Linked DNA regions of Homo sapiens: region 1 is linked to region 2. Evidence: promoter capture Hi-C in human tissues and cell types (Jung and others, 2019). All regions are on one chromosome and are shown on one strand. The core of a region is centred on a gene start or on the middle of the fragment in contact, and the rest is flanking DNA. Distances in the headings are between cores, read along the strand shown. Region 1 has its middle 8.2 kb from the start of SERTAD2. Region 2 holds the start of CEP68 (centrosomal protein 68).

Region 1 (2,850 bases), core at 311-2,810, 390 kb after region 2:
AGCCATAAACATATTTTCATATATTCTCTCCCAAAAGTTTAAAATTTTGTTTTACCTATTTAGTCTACCTGAAATATATTTTTTTGTAAATATTAGGCACCTAATTTATTTTTCATACAGGTAATCAGGTGGCCCTGAGCTATTTATTTATAATTTTTTTGAGACAGTCTCGCTCTGTCACCTAGGCTGGAGTGCAGTGGTACCAACATAGCTCACTGCCGCCTTGACCTCCTGGACTCAAGCGATCCTCCCACCTCAGCCTCCTGAGAATCTGGAACCACTATGCTCTGCTAAATGTTGGTTTTTTGTTTTGTTTTGTTTTGTTTCTTTTTGAGATGGAGTCTCTCTCTGTTGCCTGGGCTGGAGTGCAGTGGTGCAATCTCGGCTCACTGCAACCTCTGCCTCCCAGGTTCAAGTGATTCTCCTGCCTCAGCCTCCCAAGTAGTTGGGATTACAGGAGCCCGCCACCACGCCTGGCTAATTTTTTTTGTATGTTTAGTAGAGATTGGGTTTCACTATGTTGGCCAGGCTGGTCTCGAACTCCTTACCCCGTGATCCACCCGCCTCGGCCTCCCAGAGTGGTGGGATTACAGGCATGAGCCACCGTGCCCAGCCTGCTCAGCTAATTTTTAAAATTTTTGTAGAGACAGGGTCTCTTCATGTTGCCCAGGCAGGGTTCAAGCGATCCTTCTGCCTCAGCCTCCTGAAGTGCTGCGATTATAGGTGTGAGCCATCGTGCCTGGCCCTGAGCTACTTATTGAATTCTTTCCTTACTGATCTGTAATTTCACTTCAGTCATGTATTACACTTCCATATATATGTGGTTCTGAACTCTCAATTCTGTTCCATTGATCTATTTATCTGTACCTATGTCAACTCTACTCTGCTCTAATTACTAGAGCTTTATAATAAGCTCTGATAGGACATGTCCCCCATCTTGTTCCTTAAGCTTATTACAACTGTGTTTGGCCCTTTTCTATTTCAGATGAATTTTAGGATTCATTTGCCAAGTTCCATTGAAGGAAAATATGGGATTTAAATTTCATGTAATTTGTTGATAAGTTTGGGGGAGAATCTGCATGTATATAGTATTAAGTATTCTTGTCCATTAAATGGTATGGCTCCCCATTAATTTTTATCTTTTCATCTGATGAACTTTTGGAAAGGTGTTTGTCTTCTCACTTTTCATTTTTGGCTGTAATGAGAAAATCGTAATTCTGGAATCTTTATTCTCATTGCTGTTAATTGTTATTAAAACTAAAAGCATGATGTCTCACAGTTTTAAAGGGGCAACAAATCAGAATGGATTGAAAATCAGTATCTGATTAATTAAAAATTTTTTCTACCTTTTTGTAATTTGGGCTTTAGTTTCTTAAAGGAAGCTAAACAGAAATTATGTTGAAATTATCAACATTAGTCCCACAAAAATGATTTTTCCGTAGCCCAGTACTGGATTGTGCTGCACTCTGTGTAAAGAGGCCAAATGAATAGCTCTGCACTCATAGTGAGGGAATCTGGCACTTTTTAAGTGAGATTTTTGACTTGTTGTGACTCTTTCAGATGTATGTTTTCTTTTAAATGAATCATCTTTAAATATATGCATTGTCTGAGCAAGTTCAGGATTGTAAAGTGTACATTTAATTGTAACAGAACAGAACAGCAGTGGGCGTCTGTGCTACAGATGATATTCTTAGGGTATTTGCTGCCATCCACTCTCCTTTCTAAATTTGGTGTTACAGATTCAACTTCTGTTTTTAAAAGGGAAGTTGCAGATAGATCATTCACACTATTATTTTCTCCTTAAAGCTAGCTTCTCTGCCCATGTGAGGAGTTTCCTATAACCTAAACAAGACTTCTCCAAGAAAACCGCTTTGAAACAAATATTACTTAGCAAGATTAAATCTTTTGTTCAATATTTAAAGTATATTTTTGAAAAAACAATTGACTACTTATACAAGTGTACCTAATGTGGTGTTGGTGTCTGAGCTGCTTGCTTTATTTTCTTCCTACTTGACTTTACTCTGCATTTCTGAAATTTTAGATATAAAAATTTAAAAACTAAAAACAAAAAAGAGAAAGAGAACAAAAATTATACATTTTATTTTATTTTCATTCATTCTTTAATTTGTTTTGAGTCAGCTCTGTTGCCTAGGCTGGTGTGCAGTGGTGCGATCTCAGCTCACTGCAACCTCTGCCTCCTGGACTCAAGCAATTCTCATGCCTCAGCCTCCCGAGTAGCTGGGAATACAGGCGTGTGCCACCATGCCCAGCTAATTTTTTTGTATTTTTAGTAGAGACGGGGTTTTGCCATGTTTGCCAGGCTGGTCTCGAACTCCTGGCCGCAAGTGACCTGTCCACCTCAGCCTCCCAAGGTGCTGGGGTTACAGGCATGAACCACCATGCCTGGCTATAAATTTTAAATTGTGTGTGTGTGTGTGTGTGTGTATATATATATATTCCAGTTTAAAGCAAAAGACTAGTATTATTAGACAGGTTGGATAATTTTGAAAACGTCTTGTTTATTCTGGCAACAGGTCTTTAAAAGACAATTCTACATTAGCGACTAAAAGGTAAAGCCTACACAGTCTTGGCAAGTGTTACCTCTCCCCTAGAAAACTAATACAAATTCATGTGGCAAAGGGCTGATTCATTTTTAGTTGTATATTGTGTTTTACACTTAAACTGTATCTTCTGTTCACGTTTATTTTCTAATGATGCCTCATAGCCTAAACTTGGAGGCACTTCCTGGGCACCTATTCACATTAAAGTCTTGATTTTTTTTTTTAACTTCTCTTAAGTAGAATTTTTATAGCTGAGACTTCAAAAAATGGTTTAAATATATTATTTACA
Region 2 (2,816 bases), core at 137-2,636:
AGAGCTAAAGCCTGTTTGACTTAGAGAGCCTGAGCTTAGCTGCCTTCCTAACCTGTAAGAATAACTCGCTCAAGAAGTTAAATAAATGTTTCTGTTGTGTCACCTTTAGACTACCACGCTGATTTTGTTTCCTTTTGGCTTCCTTCCATCATTGAGTGCCTTTTATGTTCCAAGCATTGTGCTAGGGGCTGGGGAAACCACAATACAGTGTGATGAGTAAAAACAGAGGCTGCAGAAGGTAGCCCAAAAAAGGGAGGAGTTATCAGTCGCAGGGTGGGGAAGTGCTTTAAAAAGCTTTGCGCAAAAGAGGTTAAACTGAATTCCTTGGGTTTTTTGTTGTTGTTGTTTTCTAAGTGGGCCAGAATTGACTCAACAGAGGGTGGGAAAGGGGAATGGAGGGAACAAAGTAAAAAGTGGTGACTTCTAGATCTTTCAACTAAACCCAAGGCAAACTGACCCAACAACCTTTGTTACACACTTTAACACAACACTCTTCATACCCTAGATCTGAGAACTGTTAGATTATTTACAAACGCTACCTCCCTTCGTGGTCCTGATGAATTCCCAGTGAGGTCCAATCTGCCCTGGCAGGCTTCCGCTCATTTTTGTTACAAACAATACACTAAACCCAACCTACTAATCATCAAGGGCCTGGAACAGGTTTTGGACATTCGTCCCCAGGCTGCTGAGAACTGTTCTAGTGATGACAGTTAGAAAGGGTAGCCCTCCGAGGCAAAAAAAATGAGACATCTTGATTTTTTCTCTCCGCATCTGGGCGCGGCGATAAGAAGACATCACTGGTCTCCATCTTTCCAGGGGGAAAGGCCCGAGCTGCATTAGCCCCGACTGGGGAGCTGGGTAAACAGCCCACGCCCGGGAGAGGCCTGAGGGAAAGTGACCTCCCCCGGGGCCCAGGCCGACCAGCGGCGCAGCTGCTCGGCCGCCAGATGCGCGGACTCGCGCACTCCCTCGCCGCGCCCGGGCATTCCCAAGCCCAGCCGCCCGCCTCGGCCCCGACCCCTCGGCCGCCACAGCACACGCCGTTCCGCTCGCAAGATGGAGGCGAAGGCACGAGGCGCCCCCGCCCCCCAGGGAGCCTTTGTGCCCTTGCCGGCGGGGACGCGAGGCCAGACGGCCCGCACCGCAAGGGCCCCGCAGGCACCGAAGAGACGCGGGGGAGGGGGCCGGGCGCGCGCGCGGATCTAGCCCGGGCCACCGCCCCCAGCGCCGCGGCACCCCCGACACCAGCACCCGCACGCGGGACACTGCCTACCTACCGCACCGCGAACGCTTCGCACGTCCGGAGCGGTCTCAGCAGCCCCATGCGCTGGCCCCGAGCTGGCGGACCCTGACTGCAACTGCGGCCCTCCAACCGCAGCCCAAAACGCGCAGGGCAGGACCGAGCGCCAACCACGCCCTTCGGCCGCGCTGACCACGCCCTTCTTCCCGCCCCTTCTCCCTCCGCGGGAGGGCTTTCGGCAATTTCGCGCAGCGAATCGCAGCTCTAAGTCCGCGGCTCCACCAATACGTGGACGCTCCTGCAAGATGAGCCCGCCCCCTACTTCGTCCTGGCCTATGGGAAGCCGGGACTTCTTCAGCGGCTGTCCTCCCTCGCTTTTGGAGCTCCGACCTCAGCTTCGCCTGCGAGCTGGGTTGTGTAAAGGCTGGTCATTTTGGGGCGCTTAGGGGTGGGTGCCGGGGGGCGCGCTTTCCCTCGTGAAGGTCGCTCCAGGAGTCATGCGTACATTCGTTCATTTTGCTCTGGACGCACTGATGTTCCCGGCTCGCCGCCGTGCCGCAGTCACGAGGCTCTCCGAACGCCTTTCACTGTGTTTCTGTTTACATTCGCGTCTGCAAGACCCGGCGGCGCGACCGAGGCCCGAACAGGTGCTGCGAGGCGGGGCGGGGAGCCAGTGCTGAGGGGAGCTCCCCAGGCCGGGTGGTTGAAGACAGCTTCTGGGGGGAGGTGGAGCTCTGGCTCGTGGAGAATGGGAAGGGTGTGGAAAATGAACTGGTAGCTACTTAGCCACTCTGAGCAGCCTGCTCTGATGGGAAATCGGTGATGGAGTCGGAGGGAAGTGGGAGGCAGCTTGTGGGAGGCCAGGGTGCTCACTCTCTCCCCTGCCAGCATGGGACCTAGTAACTTTCATACATCTCTATCTATCTATCTATTTTGCAAAGATGGGGTCTTGCTGTGTTGCCCAGGCTGGGCTTGAACTCCTGGACTCAGACGATCCTCCCGCCTCGGCCTCCCAAAGTGCTGGAATTACAGGTGTGAGCCACTGCATCCCATCCCCTAGGAGCTTAATGACACTGCCCTTTAGCTTTTACTGCTTAGCAGAATCCGGAGGCATAGAGGAACTACCACCAGGGTGGCGTGGGGAAGAGGCCCTCCCTTCTGATGATTTTCTCTCAGCAGCACTTTCAGCAATCTGGCTTCAACTGAATATCTCCCCAGTTCATAAAACAGGCGTCTGTAAATGTCAACCCCAGCTGGGTGCAGGGTACAAATTTTTTCCTACAGAGCTCTTGAGTCCCAGGTAGTTTAGGAGACAAGGACTTGTTTGGTTTTCCCAGACCTGTCAGGACAGCTCAGAGGTTTTGTCTAACCCAGGGGCCACAAACTTTGGACAACAGCAGCAGCTAGCCCACAGATGGTTTTATTTGGGCATCGCATAGCTTTTCTTTGTTTGTTTGCTTTTGTTTTTTAATAAGAATTTGAATCCCACCACCACCACTGGTCCATTAAGTAACAGCCAGCCTTCACACATTTGCTGCCTACCTGAAGGCATTTGTGTTTGTGACCCTTGATCTTT

The links. The method cuts DNA at HindIII sites, captures the fragments that hold promoters and counts their contacts. A contact is called where the count stands out against the background at its distance.
Region 1: a contact is called between a fragment that was not itself captured here and the fragment with the promoter of CEP68 in region 2, in 1 of the 25 tissues and cell types used here (lymphoblastoid cells).

The regions. Positions count from the first base shown.
Region 1 is chr2:64,660,724-64,663,573 of GRCh38, reverse strand. No RefSeq gene overlaps it. Among named protein-coding and RNA genes, the nearest start is that of SERTAD2, 8.2 kb to the right of the region's middle. The HindIII fragment of the contact is 3,759 bases long and covers 1-2,850 here.
Region 2 is chr2:65,054,986-65,057,801 of GRCh38, reverse strand. It overlaps CEP68 (centrosomal protein 68), which reads right to left and starts at 1,386. Exons shown (of 7, transcript NM_015147.3): 1 at 1,274-1,386. RefSeq lists silencers at 154-233, 244-293, 924-1,263, 1,344-1,453 and an enhancer at 1,554-1,793. The HindIII fragment of the contact is 11,141 bases long and covers 1-2,816 here.